Regions from separate parts of the Homo sapiens genome. Here regions 1, 2, 3, 4, 5 and 6 are each linked to region 7. The links are contacts of gene promoters, found by promoter capture Hi-C in blood cells and fetal thymus (Javierre and others, 2016). All regions are on one chromosome and are shown on one strand. The core of a region is centred on a gene start or on the middle of the fragment in contact, and the rest is flanking DNA. Distances in the headings are between cores, read along the strand shown.

Region 1 (2,700 bases), core at 15-2,514, 730 kb before region 7:
GGAGGTCACGAACATGTTACAGGTTTTTTCAAACCTATGTTTTTACAGACAGCTCACTATGTTGCCAAGGCTAGCCTAGAACTATTGGGCTCAAAAGATCTGCCTGCCTCAGTCTCCCGAGTAGCTGGACTACAGGAGCGCACCACCACACCTGGCTTCGAACATGAATGTTTCGGTAAATACTCTCTGCATCCCAAGAATGGAGGGATTAGGTTAAGGGTGGACTTAGTTCTGTCTTCTCCCTCAGAGATCCTATCAGTTCTCAGTGTCAAGCAATGTGTGTCAAGCTACGGCAAAAACGAAGGTAAGCCTGATTAGTTCAATGTTATTTTGGAAACTCTCAAACCATTTAAATTTGAGTCAGAAAAGAATGTTGAGAGAGACGAAAATTCTCTTCAACCACCTTTTTTTCTGGGTTACCACTACAACTGCCACCTTTTCACCAAAAAGACTGCTCAGCCGAACTGAAGAGTTTCTTTGTTTTTCGGACCCAAACTGGGTTCATTCAATGATTGTCGGATACTTTCGTACTTCTTCCAAAAGATCCGTAGTGAGTAGCACCCCTCCTTCCTTTTAGAAAATTTAAGAAAATAAGTTGGGAGAGTAAGAAAAAGAAGGCCAAGAAAATCTCAACCAAGTGCTAAATGAAGGTGCGCTGGAAAGCTCCAAAGACCCTGGAACTTTGCGGAGTCCGCAATTTCCAACCGCGGAGGTGAGTAACCGCGGGACACCGCGATGCGCACGTAACATTTTGTTTGGTACAAAGCGGTAGGCTTCAGAGGTGCAATCCGGCCCGCGAGGTGCCCACAAGTTCCCGCGGGGGCCATGCTAGGGCTGCAGAAGGCATCAGAGTCAGAGACCTGTCAGGACCCCCGCGGGCTGCGCAGGCTGAACTGGAAAGGCGGAGGCCAGAAAGGAAGGTTCTGAGGTTGGCGAAAGGCAAGTGGGCGAATTGCCCCAGGCGAGGCGCCGAGCCCAGCCTGGCCCTCCAGTTCGGCTTCTACGGAGCCAGCGGCCAGCGCGGGACACTCACCCTGGCGGTCGCTGGGATTACAGGCCGCCGCCCTGCATCGCAGACGGAGCCGGCACAGGGAGGACCAGCTACATCTGTGGGCCGCGGCGGCGGCCAAGCCGGGTAACATCCTGGTGGGGCAGAGGCCCCTACTCGGACACCGCCTTCTGCCTCCGCGCCGCCACCGGTACCAACTGACTCCATAGACTGGACATCAGCGAACACCGATGGCTTCGCCGCCACAAGCTGCCTGGGTGACCCGGAAACGGCAACGTCATTTAGCGACGCCTGCCGTGGAGGTAGCGGAAGTGACGTAACACGTTGAGCACCAATAGGGAGGCCTTCCTTCCCGGGGACCCAGACTCCCAAAGTGGGGAGGGCGTGGCTGCAGGGGAAGTTTGGTGTCTGCCGTCTTCTTTTGCACCTGTACTTTTGCGCTTGGTTGGAAATCACGTAAACTGTTTACATCTTGTTCAGCCAGGAAAGCTGTCCTTTGGGAGTTCTACTTATTCCTTTTTTTCTGGACTCGAAACCGGGGCCGTGGTTTCGGAAATGGGAGGAAAGATGGGAAGGATGGACGCAGGTTTTCTGAGCCTCTCTACCTAGAGCCTGCCAGGATAAACCCAAATTAGAACCAACATGTCCAGTACTCTCCGAACGTCTGCCACGTACATCGTTCTCCTTGTTAACACCAGTGTGTATCCAGTATCATAAAGGCAAGTACACACTTCGGAATCAGCTACTTGCCCTACTAATCTGTGAACCTCAGATTTTTGCCTGCAATATAAGAGGTTTTATGTTCATGACAAGTTAGGGTAAACGGAGGTATGCAGACTTCGAAACATTTTGGTCCCAGGGAGAAAGAAACCTGAACAGTATCCACGTTAACTGTTTCTCTCTGCCATGCTCATTCAGCTCTTAACTCAAACTCAAGAGAGGCCTTCCTTGACCACCCTAGCTATGGTAGTCCTGGTCATTCTCTACCCGGCTGTCCTATATACTTTTCTTCAAAACGCTTATCACTATTTGAGATTTTTTTTTCTATTTTGTGTCCTAGAATAGAAAATAAGCATCATGATGCTGGAATCTTGTCTATTTTGTACATGGCTGTATAAAGCCGCTAAAACAATGCCTGGCAAAAATAAATTGAATGGAATGTATGGTGGTTTGTTTTAAAGTTAATCTGAGTCGCTTATCTATATTACTGCAAAATAACTATCTCGGGGAAATTTAGTATGTCCTTAATTTTTAAAAAAATCAACAAGTCTCTTATACTAATTGAGATAAGTATAACCAAATGAGGAAAGAGATTATCGTTAAGAATGGTAAGCAAATTTAATTTCCTATGACAAACATAACTTAAAATATTCAGTGGACAAACATTAAAAAATGATGTCCCATAAATGTAGGCTCAATATTACTAAAAAATCTGAATATTACTGGAAAGTTACTTTCCCTTTCTTGTAATAGATTTTAATAGAAATTCAACTTTATGAAGTAAAAATACATAAAGGCTTACCTCTTATTTTATGGTAACTATGCAAACATCTATTAACTTTTATGGATAATTCTTTTTGAACAAAACTAATCTCATATTTTGGATTCTTAAAATGGCTTTGGTTTCAACTCGTTTTAGGCAAGCCTGATCAAAACTTCTCAGGTTTTATTTTTAATTTGTGCGATAGGAT
Region 2 (2,704 bases), core at 121-2,620, 700 kb before region 7:
TGAATAATACATCCAATTCCCCTAAATTTATCTATGCGTTGAGACTGAAATGCACATTATTCCCCCACAACTCCTCCCCCTACCCCATTCCCAATCAATTACCTTACCTATAAAACCTTCCATTTAACCTTTTAAGTCAGATTTGATGGGTAAACATGTAATCTACAGTATACTCTCCATTATTATTTCAGGATAGACACACATATAGTCAGATGCTGAATCTTCATTACATTCCTTTCAAAAGGCATCTAAACTGTTGCAATTGTCTATGAAAATTCAAGCCTAAGAAACCAAGAAAACTGGCAGTCAAGATTCTGAACTAGGTAGTTCTACAAACTATAATACGAATAATCTATATGTCCACATTAGTAAAAGAAGGATTTCCTGTTTGAGAAATGTTTCTCAATGGCTCTTTGAAGGGAAAGCTGTGTCACTACTGCTTTCTGCTTTCAATGGCTAGGTGACCCCAAATATTTATCCAACTGGCTAAGAGGCTTACAGTTGAGCCTTTTAAAAAATACTCAAGGCCACAGAAGTACTTACGGAAATAAAATTTTAGAAGATCATAGTTTAAGATACATAGAATTCTTCTTATAATGGTACATTCAAAACACATCTGTCCTAACAAAGCAGCATAAAACCAATTAAAAAAACAATTTGAAATTAAATACACTGAGAAGTGTTAAAATCATTAACCAAAATTACTGAATGGTAGAATACTGTCTCAAAATGTACTGAATTCACATATGTGTATCACCATAATGAATTCATGCCAGATATAAACTCAGGTTACCAATTAGGTTGAAACAAATTTTAGAGCTATTTTTTTTACATGAGAAATTAATGTACTTCATGATATAGGCACAACAGCATCTTTTTAAAAAAACTGGTATATTTATCACTAGATACAGACTTCTTTAACCATTAGCAACACAGCGCAGTAAAATTTTCTCAAAACTTTTTAAGCTTGATTTAACATGCCAAGAAAATGATTATTTTTCCACCGAGATGCATTTATGTAAATTATGTAAATTGGATTGAGGTCAGTGTAACACCTGGAATTTACAACCCCTAGCAGAAGTACCAGCTGCTAATAATGCTTATACTATATTTGTAGCTTAACTAGATGTTAAACTATGGAACTGTTGGTGCCAATCTGCTTATAAAGGCAATGCTCTGGAGACAAAGTCTTCTCACAAACAGTGGGCAAGCAGGTTTCATTATTATGTGTTCAACAACAATCCTCAGTTCATTAAATAAGGTCCTGCAAGACAAAATAGTTTTCTTTGAGAAACACAAGGAAAAAGCAATACACAGGCTTACCTCATTTTATTGTACTCCATAGATATTTCATTTTTTACAAATTGAAGGTTTGTTGCAACACCGCATACAGCAAGACTATCAGTGCCACTTTCCAACAGCATGTGCTCACTTCATGTCTCTGCGTCACACTTTGCCAATTCTTCCACTATTTCAAATGTTTTCATTATTAATCTATTATGGTGATCTGTGATCTGTTCTGTTACGGTGATCTCTTTGGTGTTACTATTGTAACTGTTTTGGGGCACCACAAACTGCACAAATATAAGATGAAGCAGTTCATGAAGGCCATTCCTGATTGGTCTCTTTCCCTCTCCTCAGACCTACCTATTCTTTGAGACACAATACTGAAATTAGGCCAATTAATAACCCTGTAATGGCCTCTAAGTGCTCAGGTGAAAGGAGGCCTCCCATGTCTGTTACTTTAGATGAAAACTAGAAATGATTAAGCTTAGTGAAAAAAGCATGGCTAAAGCTAAGACAGGCCAAAAGCTAGACCTCTTGTGCCAAATAGCCAAGCTGTGAATGCAAAGGAAAAGTTCCTGAAGAAAATTAAAAGCCCATTTCTGTGAACGGATGAATGATAAGAAAGCAGAACAGCCTTACTGCTGATGGTAATGCTATTGCGCACTTAGCAGACTACAGTAGAGTGTAAACATAACTTCTGTATGCACTGGAAAACCAAAAAATTCATCTGACAGCTTTGTGATATTCACTTTATTGTGGTAGTCTGGAACCACTCCCACAACATTTCTGAAGTATGCCTCTAATGCTAAACAAATACTCATGAAGGAATCTACCATAGCCATTAGAATTTGAAGTAAAAGAATAACTAGAATGCATTGTAGAGAAAACACAAAATACAATGAAATTCTCAAACAACACCTACATCTTTTATGGGTGGAAACACTCATTTAACAAAGGTATTTAATAAATGGCTATCTCTAAAACCTCAGATTAAATTTTAAAAATTATATATATATATTTTAGAGTCACATCATTTTCACATTTAACTTAGGCAATTTCAACTAGTTTTTTAAAACAGAACAAGAAAAAATATACTACATGGACAGTGTTTTTTATATATTTTAAAATATATAACATGGACAGTTATATTTATTCACCCACTATTTCCTTAAATGTACATATTGTCCCTCAGAGATTTCCTCTTCTGTAAAATAATTCTGAGTTGTGGTGAAATTTAAATGCAATATGGAAGATGCTCAATAAATGTTACTTCCCAGTTGGATCAATACACTGAACTATGACTCTTTTATGCCTTCCGACTAAAGCCCAAGTACTCGGTGTCACACCCAATACCCTCCACAATCTAGTCTCAATCTAATTTTCTGCCCCATCTCCTGCCACTCCCTGCCCTCGCTCC
Region 3 (2,700 bases), core at 23-2,522, 590 kb before region 7:
AAAATGTATTGAAAGTAATTTGAAATGTACAAATAAAGTATAAAAATTTATGAATTTAAATTTTATCTTAAAATAACCTAGAAAAAATTTCATTTGTGTGCTCTTGAAGACTCTTTCTTGAGTGGGGAGACATAGTTGTTTGTTAGAGCCAGTGCCCTGGGAATGGGGGTGTGTCAGCCTGACAGCATCATCTGTGAACAGTGTGGCAGTGTGAATGCAGTTGATCACTGCTGAACATGAAGACTCCTAAGGCAGCCTCTATCTGTGACAATCAGTGAACTTGGGTCAATTCCGAGGCACAGCTGTAAGTTAAGGAGGTTCATCTTTGGTATTTCCCTGCTCTTTGCTTTTTGCCATTCATCTTCCCCTTTTCCACATGTATCTACACTATTCCTTCTGTCGCTCCCCTCAGCCTGCACCTTGTCCTAGCCTGTTTCTTTCCCCCAAAAGAAATGCACCTATTCCAGTTGTTCTACTCCAAGCTAGTTTTTCTTTTTCTTAAACGAAAATAGGGTCTCCCTTTGTTGCCTAGGTAACTCCTGGGCTCAAGCAGTCCTCCCACCTCAGCCTCCTGAGTAGCTGGGACTACAGGCACACACCACCTACCTCTAGGTTAGTTTTGTATGGTGTAGTTCATGTAACCCTGGTAGTGTTTAAGATTGTTTTGCATAATACCTGGACAAATATTTGAAATGTTAGTCATTAAGTGTTTAAATTGTATTTGAAACACAAACACAACTTGTACATCATGGTTCTGAGATATTATCACTTAGGGCTAGGCTAAAGTAGGAATATACATTTTCTAAAAATAAATCGATTTTAAAAGAAATACTGAGTAAATAATAGCATAGTATATCATGAGATGGAAGTAATCATTAAGGAGGTATCTAAAGGTCTGAAATTGGAAAACATCTGAATAGAATAATTTTTGCCAAGGAAATAGAAAATCACTTAGTGAACTTTACTCTCACTCAAAGTACCAGAAAATCACAAAATAACGTGGTCTTGAGTGACAGAAATAGAAATTATTTGCCATGGAAACTCCAATGATATTATGTATAGTCAATTTTGTTTGGTAATTCCAATGCTGCTGTCTACTATTTCCAATAATTCTTGCTCGTGGTGTCTTGGTTTTTTGTGTGTTCTGTGATTTTTGACCAAGAACTCTTATTCCTTGGGTAATTACTTGGGAATTTATTTGAAGTCTGGCTTGAAGGGTTTTTTTCCCAGGTTCCTTGGGTAAGCCACCCATTCAAAACTACTTTAAATTCTAGGCTTGAGGTTTTTCAGATCTGTAAAGTAATAAGAATTTGAACTATGAGCTCTTTTTTTTTCTTTTCAGTTATCTTTCAGTGAATGGAATACAAACCATTTTGAAGGCCAGCTTTCACTACAATCTATGGTGGAGGTGGTGAAGGAGAGGTTTCTCTCTGCGCTCCTCTACTCAATGCCAAGGTTCAAGAAAGGAAGTTTTCTTGCCATCCTCTTGGAGAATGGGTTTATTTCCACTTCACTTTCACCCGAACACTTTGTCTCTCATCCTCCATGTCCCTTAAGGCCATGAAATCCCAAGTCCCAAATCATGTGGGCTCAGCAAATACTTCCTGATGGTAATTGACTTCAGTGCCCTACATACTTTTCTGGATTCCCGCTTTATTTAATTTTTGCCCTGTGGATATTTCTTACTTATTTTACTTACTCCTTGATGCATTTACAAAGTTTAAAAAATATAAAAGAACTCTCACAGATAGTTGTATGGGGAGGTAAATTTGTACAACCACTTTGGAAAACTGTTTGGCAGTATATACTAAGGCTAACCCTATGCACACCTATGATGCAACAATTTCATTCTTGGGTGTTTAACCAACAGAAAGATATATACAAATTCTCCAAAAGACACTTATAAGAATGTTCACAGCAGCTTTATTCATAGTAGCCTTAAAAGTAGAAACTATACAAACACCCATCAACAGAATGGCTAAATAAATTGTGGCATGTTTATATTACGTATAGTTTACACCACTATACCGAGATTGGGAATGAACAAAGTACAATTACATGTAATAACATGAATGTATTCCGCAAGCATAAATAAAGAACCCAGACACAAAAGAGAACATAGTTTGTGATTTCATTTACATAAAATTCAAAATCTATGCTGTTAGAAGTCAGCGTAGTGTTTATTCTTGGAGGATTAGTAACTGAAATGAAACTCAAGGGAGGCATTTGTGGTGCTGATAATTTGTTCTTTCTTTTTTTAAAACATGTATCTGCTGAGACATGTTCTGTCTTAGTCTGGGTGCTGGTTACACAAATCTGTCCAGTTTGCAAAAATTCATCAAGATAAACACAAGATATTTGCATTTCTCTGAATATACATTTTACCTTTCTAAGAAGGAAAAACACCTTTACATCATTTAAAAATGTTTCTAGTGGGAAGAGTTATCAGAATAAGTGGTTTGTCACATTTCACTTAACGAAAGTGGATTTTGTTTGCCATGACATTGAATTTCCAGCATCTAGCACATTATTTGGCACATAGTAAGTTCTCAATAAATATTGGTAGAACCATACATTTGGAACTTAATTTTTTTTTTTCTTTGAGACGGAGTATCTCTCTGCCGCCCAGGCTGGAGTGCAGCGGCGCCATCTCAGCTCACTGCAAGCTCCGCCTCCCGGGTTCACGCCATTCTCCTGCCT
Region 4 (2,768 bases), core at 123-2,622, 640 kb before region 7:
AATAGATGCAGAGAAGGCCTTTGATAAAATTCAAAACCCCTTCATGCTAAAAATTCAATAAACTAGATATTGATGAAAGGTATCTCAAAATAATAAGAGCTATTTATGACAAACCCACAGCCAGTATCACACTGAATGGGCAAAAGCTGGAAGCATTCCCTTTGAAAACAAGCACAAGACAAGGATGCTTTCTCTCACCACTCCTATTCAACACAGTATTGCAAGTTCTGGCCAGGGCAATCAGGCAGGAGAAAGAATAAAGGGTATTCAAATAGGAAGAGAGGAAGTCAAATTGTCTGTGTTTGCAGATGACATGATTTTATATTTAGAAAACCCCATCATCTCAGCCCCAAATCTCCTTAAGCTGATAAGCAACTTCAGCAAAGTCTCAGGATACAAAATCAATGTGCAAAAATCACAGGCATTCCTATACAACAATAATAGACAAACAGAGAGCCAAATCATGAGTGAACTCCCATTCACAATTGCTACAAAGAGAATAAAATACCTAGGAATACAACTTACAGGGGATGTGAAGGATGTGTAGAATTACAAACCACTGCTCAAGGAAATAAGAGAGGACACAAACAAGTGGAAAAACTTTTCATGCTCATGGATAGGAAGAATCAATATCATGAAAATGGCCAAACTGCCCAAAGTATAAATTAAATGCTATCCCCACGAAGCTACCATTGTCTTCCTTCACAGAATTAGAAAAAACTACTTTAAATTTCATATGGAACCAAAAAAGAGCCTGTATAGCTAAGACAATCCTAAGCAAAAAAAAAAAAAAAAAAACAAAGCTGGATGTATCATGCTACCTGACTTCAAACTATACTACAAGGCTACAGTAACCAAAACAGCATGGTACTGGTACCAAAACAGATATATAGACCAATGGAACAGAACAGAGACCTCAGAAATAATGCCACACATTTACAACCATCAGATCTTTGACAAACCTGACAAAAACAAGCAATGGGGAAATATTCCCTATTTAATAAATGGTGTTGGGAAAACCTGGCTAGCCATATGCAGAACACTGGAACTAGACCCCTTCCTTATACCTTACACAAAAATTAACTCAAGATGGATTAAAGACTTAAACGTAAGACCTAAAACCGTAAAAACCCTAGAAGAAAACCTAGGCAGTACCATTCAGGGCATAGGCACGGGGAAGGACTTCATGACTATCACACCAAAAGCAATGGGAACAAAAGCCAAAATTGACAAATGGGATCTAATTAAACTAAAGAGCTTCTGCACAGCAAAAGAAACTGTCATCAGAGTGAACAGGCAACCTACAGAATGGGAGAAAACTTTTGCAATCTATCCGTCTGACAAAGGGCTAATATCCAGAATCTACAAGGAACTTAAACAAATTTACAAGAAAGAAACAAACAACCCCATTAAAAAGTGGGCAAAGGATATGAACAAGTGCTTCTCAAAAGAAGATATTTATGCAGCCAACAAATATATAACAAAAAGCTCATCATCACTGGTCATTAGAGAAATGCAAATCAAAAACACAGTGAGATACCATCTCACGCCAGTTACAATGCTAATCATTAAAAAGTCAGGAAACAACAGGTGCTGGAGAGGATGTGGAGAAATAGGAACGCATTTACACTGCTGGTGGGAGTGTAAATTAGTTCAACCATTGTGGAAGATAGCGTGGCGATTCCTCAAGGATCTAGAACCAGAAATACCATTTGACCCAGCAATCCCATTACTGGGTATATACCCAAAGGACTATAAATCATGCTGCTATAAAGACACATGCACACATATGTTTATTGAAGAACTGTCACACATATGTTTATTGAAGAACTGTTCACAATAGCAAAGACTTGGAGCCAACCCAAATGCCCATCAATGATAGACTGGATAAAGAAAATGTGGCACATATACACCATGGAATACTATGCAGCCATAAAAAAGGATAAGTTCATGTCCTTTGCAGGGACATGGATGAAACTGGAAACCATCATTCTCAGCAAACTAACACAGGAACAGAAAACCAAACACCACATGTTCTCACTCACAGGTGGGAATTGAACAATGAGAGCACATGGACACAGGGAGGGGAACATCACACACCAGGGCCTGTCAGGGGTTTGGGGGCTAGGGGAGGGAGAGCATTAGGAGAAATATCTAATGTAGATGACGGGTTGATCAGTGCAGCAAACCACCATGGCATGTGTATACCTGGGTAACAATCCTGCATGTTCTGCACATGTATTACAGAACTTAAACTATATATATATTAAAAAAAGTTCAGAAATTGTGCACACAATTCAGCCTCTTCAAAAACAGACATGAATGATAATAAATATGTGTATATACAATCTATGTGTGTACATATATACACACAAATATATGTTTATAAATATACACACATTTACAAATATCAGCTCATACATAAAGAGACATTATCAATAGTTAAACAGCATAAATAGAACACCTACATTCTAAAATACAACCACTGTTAAATGTATTGGAAAAGAGAAATACAGACACATTTTCTACTTATCAATATTTCAAAGTGTTTGTGAAAAATTTATCACTCTGTGCTTCTGGTAGGTTCAGTTGTCAATTCTGGGATTTTATACCATCTAGTAATAAGGCTTAAATCAATTATCATAAGGAACAATGATCTACCCTGAGATATTTGCTTAATATGGATAATCCAAAATTGTTTGTAAGAGAACATGAACTTTTTCTTAAAACATTTACAGTATTCATTTTTGTCAAATTTTAGCAATTTA
Region 5 (2,964 bases), core at 296-2,795, 610 kb before region 7:
TTTACTTCAGAACATTTTCAAGTTTTAATAAGGATTTAATAACCTCTGATTTAGAGGCAACCAGAGCAAAGTTGTTGAATTTAATAGAGACTAACATATGGGAAGGGTTTTAAAGAGCCATTCACATCCAAACCCCAAAATGGCTTCAATCAGCAGGTATCTTGATGTTTATTTAATGAAGAAATGTATGAGCAGCTGCTGTTTCCCAATTTCAGATGTAGTTATCTTTCATTGCTTTGCAACAAATCAGGAAGAACAGATTTTAGCTGTAATTTGGGATCATTCCATTAGATATGCAGGGCTACACCAGCAGATTCATAAACAAAAACAATGAGGCTGGTTTAAGGAATAAAATATAATAACTCTTGGGATGGAATCTGTGGGTTGTGTTTTCAGATCTATTGCTAGTTTCTAGGTCATAAATATTTTCAAGTTTAGACTAAGCCCTAAAGGCCTTTATAGATAAATAAAAACCCAATCTGACACTGATTCTTAACTGACCTTGTGGTATTATTGCAGATGAAGGCATGAGGTTAATTTCTGTTACCCAGTGCATGGTGGGCATTGCCAACACCATAATGTCCCTCTAACTATGACAAGGAAAAGTGTCATAGACAAATGGGGCTATGATATGGCCCAGAGGGTTTATGGGGCAATTGCTCGCAGGACAGATATTCATAGCAGGTATATCGAGCTGCAGATGCACTGTTTATTTGATTCCTACTTAAAAATTTGAGGCTTGTGTGTGTGTGTGTGTATATATATATATGTGTATATATATATGTGTATATATATGTGTATATATATATGTGTATATATATGTGTGTATATATATGTGTATATATATGTGTATATATGTGTATATATATGTGTATATGTATATATGTATATATGTATATGTATATATATATGTATATATGTATATGTGTATATATGTATATATGTGTATATATGTATATATGTGTATATATGTATATATATGTGTATATATGTATATATGTGTATATATGTATATATGTGTGTATATATGTATATATATGTGTATATATATGTATATATATGTATATATATATATTTGGTACTTGTCTACCTTTTGAACAAATACGAATTAGGGGAACATATACTGATTGTTCTCTTCTGTTATCAATACACATGCTGGGCCTCTTCAAAAGAAATAAAGTTTGTATTTGGCAACCTTAATAGCAGACTCTCTACTTAAGAGAGCAATTATGATAAACTTTTTATAACTTTGGCATTGGGTACAGAATTAACTACAGTCTTACAACTTTTCCATGATATTTCTTATGAACAATTTCCAAGTTTGATGGAGGGGATCATTTAAGAATGGTAGCCCGGAGTCTGCTATAACATGGCCTACTATATGTTAAGGTTAAGTTATAGTTATATTTTTAAATTCTCCATCCAGGGCCAATAAAAATGATGAGTTTATTTGGAAAGTTCTTTTATAATGCAGATTTTCTCCTTTTTTCTTTCTTTTTTTTTTAGTTTCACCATGATACATATTTATTAATTTTTAATGTGTTTATTGGTAACTAAGGCAAAGTATTTGTCTGATTTAGGCTCTCAGAGGCTCTAAGTATTTCATGCAAATTCCTACTGTGAAGCTGGAATAAAGAAGAGGGAAAAAGAGGTGATTTGAACTATTACCCAGTACCAGTCAGCTCTAATAACTTAGTAGAGGTGAGGACCACACATTTTGATTAATCTCTAATTGATCTGTTCCCTATTATGCATCTGGCAAATGAGCTTGCTGGTGAACTGACTGCTGTGGCCAAACACATAGCAGATATTAGGAAGTAGCCATTCGCTGAGTTAAAAACACAGGGACTCTGAGACCACCTGTTTTAAATGTGGACCCTCCCATTTAACAGTTGTGCGACCTTGGGCAAACTACTTAACCTCTCTGCTGTTCAGTTTCCTCATGACCAGGATTTAGCAATTAATACTTGCTAAGTGCTTAGAACAAAATAGTACACCTTACTCGTTGCAATGATGAGGCTCCCACTCAATGCCTGCCTTCGCTACAAACCCCTCACAGCAAGGGTCCCTTTGCTTCCGGACCCTTGGGAAAGCAGCCTCCACTCAGGTCGGAAGACTTCCAGCCCCCGACTGCTTCCGGAATGTTCTGCCCACATTTTAACACCTTGACCTTCCCTAAAGCCTGAGCTGGAGCGGAATGGAGTTTGACCAGGAGCAAGGCCAGGGACCTCGCACCCAGGCGGATGGCAGAGACTCGGAGGGGCGCAGAGAGGCCCGGAAGCAGCGGGAGCAGGCCAGGCGCACCCAGGGTGCATGCTAATAAGGGGCGCCGGCAGAGCCCGCCGCCGCCTGCGCGCCCGCAGTGCAGGAGCCGCGCCCCGGCAGGGGCACGCGGTGCCACTCAGGCCGGCGGGGGGCGCGCAGCTCGCAGCAGCCGCGCGCCCGGGCCTCTCAAAGCCCCTTTCAGCAGCTCTGCGGGCTCCTCACCGGAGGAGTCTGGCGCGACATAAAAGCGCATTATGAAAATTATAATATCAGCCACAGAGCATGTCCACCGAGGCAGCTCTGCATCTTTGAGGCATTGAGCCTCGTTCAGCTGGGCCGAGGAGGGAAATATCCATTTCAATTCGGTCCCTGAATGGGGGCAGCGGCTGCGGCAACCACAACAGTGCCTCCTTTATCCGTTCGGCCACTTCTCCTGCTTGCTCATTCCCTGGCTGTTGCACCTTGTCTCCTTATGGGCTGGGATGTGGAGCGGGAGGGGCGCAGGAAGGATAAGGGAGCAGAAGTGGGGGGCCCCGATTCACAGCCGTGCTGGGACAAGAAGCGTTGTCATTTGAGCCCCCACGAGAATGATAAATGAGGCTTTCTAGGGCCTGAGGAAATTTTCGTTCTGCTGGGGAGCGGAAGAGTGGAGGGTCAAGACCTGGGTGCATTTTTCGGAGGCTGGAAGGGAGTGGATTT
Region 6 (2,786 bases), core at 209-2,708, 680 kb before region 7:
TAAATCAATGTAAAATGCTTCCTGATATATAATATAGATATACATATTAGATGTACCTATATATGCTGCAAAACATGTCTGGACTCTTGAAAACTATCAGTATCTTAAAAGACAAAAAAGGGGAGGAGAGGGCAGAACTGTTCTAGATTAAAAGGCAGTAAACAAGATATGGCCAGTAAATTGAATGCATGCTTTCTGAGATAGGGTCTCGCTCTGTCACCCCAGGCTGGAGCGCAAAAGCACAACCCACCTCAGCCTCCTGAGTAGCTGGGACTATGCTGGGACTATAGGAGCGCACCTCCACGACCGGCTAATTTATGTTTGTTTGTTTGTTTGTTTGTTTTGAGAGAAGGTTTTGCTCTATCACCCAGGCTGGAGTGCAGTGGCGCGATCTTGGCTCACGGCAGCTTCAACTTCTCGGGCGCAAGCGATCCACCCGCCTTGGCCTCCCAAAGTGCTGAGATTACAGGCGTGAGCCACCACGCCCCGCCTAATTTCTTTGATTTCTAGTAGAGATGAGGTCTCGCTATGTTTCCAAGGCTGGTCTCTAACTCCTGAACTCAAGCGATCCTCCCGCCTTGGACTCCCAAAGTTCTGGGCTTACAGGAGTGAGCCACTGCGCCAGCCCATCGATGCATGCTTTTTGACAGAATCCCAGATGAAGAGAAAGCAGCTTTAAAGGACAATTATGGAAATTTGCACATGGATTTTATATTAGGTAATATTTCCCAAATGTGGTAACTGCATTGTGGTCACACAGAATAATACTTAACTACTTATGGATTAAAAAGTAGAGGACAGCAATGCTCCGGGCACAAATAACTTGTTAGCTCCAGATCAGCATCTTAAAAAAATTACAAAAGCATAATGATATTTCTCTTCATAAAGAACAAAGTGAAGAAGAAAAAGACCACCGCTCTCCTCCCTTTGCATAATTTCTATATACGATTGTATAAACTAGGCAGAAACGTTCTTTGCCGGCACTCGTGTGCTCCACGTGGTGTGTGTCATGGATCATGTGTGTCATGGCACAATCTCATGCGGCATCTTTAACCTTGGGGCCTACGGTAAACAAAAGACCGAGGTGGGAGAAGAGGAAAGAAGGCCCAATTTCCATGGCATACAGGTGGGGGCCACCAGCTCCAGGTCAGCCTATTGTCGCTTCAGAAACAAACTTGTAGTTCCCTCCATATCTTCGCTCAGGACCTCCCCTCTCCCCGCTCCAACTTCCCCACCCCAACTCATTAATCCCATTCCTGAATGCACTGAGCTTCTGGAACGCCTCGGGACTCGCAACGCTTCCTGCTTCTTCCTAACTCTTGCAAATCAAGCCAGACTACCCTGCCCTCGCACTTACCACAGCGCCCGCCCCTTGGGGGCCGTTCGGGGTCGTATCTGCCATGGGGGCTCACACTAGCGTCTGCGACGCCGCAACCGCGAAGAGAGAAGAAAGGGGAGAGAAAACGTCAGCGCTGGGGCCAGGACCCGGGTACCGGCTTCCCTGCCTCGCGCCACACACAGGCCGGATGCACCCTGCCGGAACTCTGAGCCTCCACCAGGGAAGGGTCTCGCTCGCCTGGTGCAGCCGACTGGATCCAGGGCACCCGCAGCAGCCGGGAGGTACCTGTCCCGCACCGCCGAGATCAAAGCGGTGTTTCCAGAAAGACGGGAGCGAAGGTGGAGCTTCGGGGTGAAGCCCTAAAGAGCCAACCTACGCCGCCGGCTCCAGGTTATTGCCGAACCCGGAAGTGCTCCTTTCATTTCCGTGGGGAAGAGGCGGTGACAAAGAGGGGGAAACGGGAGCGGTGCCCAGAGGCATGACGGGAAGTGTGGTTTTTTTCTCCTAATTTGAGCCCCACCTGTCCTTCCGCCGATTGGCCCAGTGAGCTAAGAAATCAGGATGGGGGAGCAACTTTTGCATTAAATACAGCTCACAAATGATCTTTCCTGCCCATTCTCAAACCATGAAATTTCCGCACTTCCTGATATAGAGGCCTCAGAAACATCTTTGATTCCTTTCTCCAGGGGCTTACTAAGCCCGTTGGTTCTACGTCTATTATTAATTCTTTCAATAAGTATTTATGAGGCCTGCTATGTGACAGGCTCCATACTTGGCACGGCGGATAAAAAGAGGAATATGACACAGATTGCAAAAGAGAAACAAGTAAACGGAAATCAGAGCATAGTGATTGTGTAATATGTGTAGAGGCTGATTTAATCACAGGGAGCACAGAGGACGGTACCTAAATCAGAAGGGATCTGGGGAGGTTTCCTGGAAAAGGTAAGTCCGGGCCTTGATCTTGAACGACAAAAAGTTGGCTGAAAGTGTTACTGGTGTAGGGTGTCCAAGTTCTTGGCGTTTTGAACATAGAATTGGACAAAACGCACAAAGCAAGGAAAGAATAAAGCAACAAAAGCAGAGATTTGTTGAAAATGAAAGTACACTCCAGAGTGTGGGAGAGTGAGACAGCAGCTCAAGGGCCCTGGATACAGAGTCTTCTCGGGTCCAAATACCCCCTAGAGGTTTCCCATTGGCCACTTGGAGTTCACTTCATGTAAATGAAGTGGTGGCCCGCAATCAGTCTGAATGGTTGCGCAAAGCAACCAATCAGAGGCTGAAGAAGTTACAAAGTTACACTTCTATGCAAACGTCTGATTGGTTACAAAAAGCAACCAATCAGAGGTACTTTCAATTTCCCAAATCTGCGCAGAACAGGTTGGGGCTTGCAAAGGGAGTAGTATCTGGCCCTTTATTCACTTAAGCGTGGACAGTAAGGATTTTCCTT
Region 7 (2,700 bases), core at 127-2,626:
GAAATACATTCAAGAGGCTAAAAACCAAGTGTGCAAGTGGTGGGAGTGGAGAAGAGAGAAGAACCCCTTAAGACCATCAGAAACCCAAGTAATGGAGGCGGAGAATTAGCGAACCTAATTGTTTCCCTGCGATTTAGGTCAGCCCTTCCCCCTCCATTCTACAGCTAGGTGGGAGTCTGAGAAGCAAACAATGAGTTGACAGGTTATAGCCCTTAAAGGGAAACCAGCAGCCATTCCCCGGAACCGGAGGCTCGAAAAAGCCCAAGTTCGAGGGAACTCATGAGTAGGATGAATGATTTCCCTGGATAACGGGATAGATGGAACTGAGATACTGCCTCTCTTCCAAATTTAAGGCAATTGTGGACGGATGGGCAAGAAGGCGACAGGCACCGCTGGAACAGGAGCCCAGGGAGTAGGTACCACGAAAATGCAGGCTCCTCCCTTCCTTGTAGGCGCGCCCCGCATCACCTACAGGGGAGGGGGCGGGGCGGGGAGCCCCCGAGGACTCAAGCTGGGGAGCGGCGTGCACTGCCGGCGGCCGGCGCATCCTGGGCCCCACGCCCTACCTGGGCCGTGAGGGGAAACAGCAGCAGCAGCGCGCAGGCAGGCGCTGGCACCGAGCCCAGAGACTCCTCTTCCAGCCCCAGCACGTCCACGAAGCGCCACTGGCCGGCGACCCCCAGCCGGGACAGCACCTGCGGAGAGGAGACAAGGCGGCCAGGCGCACGGGGACACGCGGGTCGCGGGCACCTGCCAGGGGGCGGGGCCAGGAGGCGCGCGCCCTCCGCGCCCGCACCCGAGCCTGGGAGGAGCCCCAGTCCCGCCCTGCCACCCCCACCCGGGCCGGCGCAATGACACAGCACAAAGCGCGGCCCACACGTGGCGCCCGCGAAGCCCGTGCAGCCGAGTCTGTGCTGCCCGCGCCACGCCCTCGGGAGCTCCGCCTGGCGCTCGCTCGCCACGGGGCGCAGCCCCCTCCGTCTCCCCGTGACCGGTTTCGTAGAGTCACCCGCTAAATGCAGGGGCCCAGGAAAGGCGCCCAGCCCACGCCCCAGCCCGGCCGTCTCCGGTGCTCGCAGCGGGCGGCTTGGTCCCTGCCAGCAGCCGGAACCGGTGGGCGCCCCCGCCTCGGCGCTCGCGGGGGAGGGGGCCAGAGACGGCGCGAGACGCCACTCACTTTGTTCAGCATCTGAAAGGCAAATGCAAAGAAAAAGGCAAAACCGAACCGATCAGCGACTCGGCTCCCCCTCCCTCGGCCTCGCGCTCTCCGGGTAGCGGTGCACCTGGCGCTCACCTCGGGGTTGATCTCCATCGGCTTGAGCTGCATCTTCGCGGAGCGCCCGGCAGAAATAGCCTAGGGAAGACGAAAAACAGCTAGCGGAGCCGCCCAGGCTGCAGCTATAAAGCGCCGGCCAGACGCACTGTGAGGCCTGTGCAGGGGGAGCAGGGGCAGAACCAAGCGAGGGGGAAACGGACGGTCGCGGCCAGATGGGTACGAACCCCCCGTGCGCAGCGCGGAGTGGTACGGCCGGGCCCCCAAACCTTGCAGTCTCACTCGCCGGTGAGATAATCTGGTGGTTGTGGAGACGGGATTTGTTGGTGGGTGTTCCTTGAGTGTATGGAGCAGTCCTTTTGATGGAGTCTTTAATTTTGGGCGAAGTTTCTGGAAACCCATCCTTTCACCATCCCAATTACTCTAAAGCTCGAGTCTCTGAAGCATTTGAGAAAAAGCACAAATTCAACAGGTATATATTTAATACGAATGAATGTAAATGTGTGCCCCCCGCCCCAAATCTCTCAGCAGTTTGCGTTTAACCTTAGACAATTCCTCCTCCATGTTAAGTCAGACCAGTACCGAGGTTCGTTTTTAAGTGACTACCTAGAATAAAACAGAATCTGGTAGATAACAGATACTGCATTAGGAATGCTGATGTAATGTGACTCCCGCGGAAGAAATGGTTGGTCCTGGGAGAGCAGTAGAAAGCTGGGGGATGTGAGGGTAATACAAGACACAAAGAAGGCAGGCGATTGGAGACTTGAGAAAACAGATCCAGGGAAAAGATGGGTATGATTTTGAGCGAGAGGCTGTAAAAGGAAAAGCATTTTTAAAAGAATGGGAAGCTTTGAAAAATAAAATGTCTGAGTTCACCGCAGAATACTCCCAATGAAGAAGAAAGGGAATGGCAACCAAGGAAACCACTGTTCTCTAATGATCTCAGGTGATCTCTAATGATCTCTAGTCAAAAGATGGAGAGAGAAAGCATTTGCTGAAGAATGAATTTTAAAAGGGACCAAAATCTATAAGAATTGTGCCAGGAAAGCTAAGCTGCAGAACAAAGTGGGCTTGCAGAAATACTTAGGTAGCGAAGGAAGCAAGAAGGTTGAGTATTTTTTAAAAATAGGCACCGAAGAGAATAATGATGATGGTAAAAGAATAGACCTTCTATTTAGGAAGTTGAGGTTAACAGATGACAGAGGGAAGGGAGGGAATCAACATTTTTTGAGTTATTGTTTTTGGGGATCCTTTGCATGTGTCTCTCATTTAATCCTTAGAGGAGCCGTGAAGAGACTCATATTAGTGCAATTTTACAGATCAGAATCCCAGGCCTAGAGAAGTTAATTTGCTTACGGTCACAATTGAAAAGTAAAACTGAGAAGTAAACCCTGCTAAACTGGGCTCCAAGAGCCCATTCTTTATCT

Evidence for each region. Contacts are between HindIII fragments. The CHiCAGO score rates a contact against its expected background, and 5 or more counts as called.
Region 1: the fragment with the promoter of SLC30A9 here is called in contact with the fragment with the promoter of UCHL1 in region 7 in 4 of 17 cell types (M1 macrophages, M0 macrophages, M2 macrophages and 1 more); the score reaches 12.9 in M1 macrophages.
Region 2: a contact is called between a fragment that was not itself captured here and the fragment with the promoter of UCHL1 in region 7, in 1 of 17 cell types (M0 macrophages). The highest score is 7.0, in M0 macrophages.
Region 3: a fragment that was not itself captured here is called in contact with the fragment with the promoter of UCHL1 in region 7 in 1 of 17 cell types (monocytes); the score reaches 5.5 in monocytes.
Region 4: a contact is called between a fragment that was not itself captured here and the fragment with the promoter of UCHL1 in region 7, in 2 of 17 cell types (M1 macrophages and M2 macrophages). The highest score is 5.6, in M1 macrophages.
Region 5: a contact is called between a fragment that was not itself captured here and the fragment with the promoter of UCHL1 in region 7, in 12 of 17 cell types (monocytes, M2 macrophages, total B cells and 9 more). The highest score is 9.6, in monocytes.
Region 6: the fragment with the promoter of TMEM33 here is called in contact with the fragment with the promoter of UCHL1 in region 7 in 3 of 17 cell types (M2 macrophages, M0 macrophages and M1 macrophages); the score reaches 17.7 in M2 macrophages.

Annotation. Positions count from the first base shown.
Region 1 is chr4:41,989,094-41,991,793 of GRCh38, reverse strand. SLC30A9 (solute carrier family 30 member 9) reads right to left here and starts at 1,264. Exons shown (of 18, transcript NM_006345.4): 1 at 1,034-1,264. The coding sequence starts at 1,142. RefSeq lists enhancers at 1,093-1,232, 1,513-1,592 and a silencer at 1,164-1,383. The HindIII fragment of the contact is 8,038 bases long and covers 1-2,700 here.
Region 2 is chr4:41,952,630-41,955,333 of GRCh38, reverse strand. TMEM33 (transmembrane protein 33) reads right to left here. Exons shown (of 7, transcript NM_018126.3): 7 at 1-1,264. The coding sequence ends at 1,135. Among named protein-coding and RNA genes, the nearest start is that of TMEM33, 19 kb to the right of the region's middle. The HindIII fragment of the contact is 804 bases long and covers 969-1,772 here.
Region 3 is chr4:41,850,383-41,853,082 of GRCh38, reverse strand. No RefSeq gene overlaps it. Among named protein-coding and RNA genes, the nearest start is that of LINC00682, 31 kb to the left of the region's middle. The HindIII fragment of the contact is 5,985 bases long and covers 1-2,700 here.
Region 4 is chr4:41,900,090-41,902,857 of GRCh38, reverse strand. No RefSeq gene overlaps it. Among named protein-coding and RNA genes, the nearest start is that of LINC00682, 19 kb to the right of the region's middle. The HindIII fragment of the contact is 6,769 bases long and covers 1-2,768 here.
Region 5 is chr4:41,866,709-41,869,672 of GRCh38, reverse strand. No RefSeq gene overlaps it. Among named protein-coding and RNA genes, the nearest start is that of LINC00682, 14 kb to the left of the region's middle. The HindIII fragment of the contact is 3,839 bases long and covers 1-2,964 here.
Region 6 is chr4:41,934,101-41,936,886 of GRCh38, reverse strand. TMEM33 (transmembrane protein 33) reads right to left here and starts at 1,458. Exons shown (of 7, transcript NM_018126.3): 1 at 1,358-1,458. The coding sequence starts at 1,402. It overlaps LOC105374426 (a long non-coding RNA gene), which reads left to right and starts at 2,212. Exons shown (of 3, transcript NR_188374.1): 1 at 2,212-2,281. RefSeq lists enhancers at 1,069-1,138, 1,149-1,198, 1,439-1,618. The HindIII fragment of the contact is 15,520 bases long and covers 1-2,786 here.
Region 7 is chr4:41,255,604-41,258,303 of GRCh38, reverse strand. UCHL1 (ubiquitin C-terminal hydrolase L1) reads right to left here and starts at 1,376. Exons shown (of 9, transcript NM_004181.5): 1 at 1,295-1,376; 2 at 1,178-1,189; 3 at 567-695. The coding sequence starts at 1,327. UCHL1-DT (UCHL1 divergent transcript) reads left to right here and starts at 1,577. Exons shown (of 3, transcript NR_102709.1): 1 at 1,577-1,745. RefSeq lists an enhancer at 166-666 and a silencer at 501-1,260. The HindIII fragment of the contact is 2,127 bases long and covers 1-2,123 here.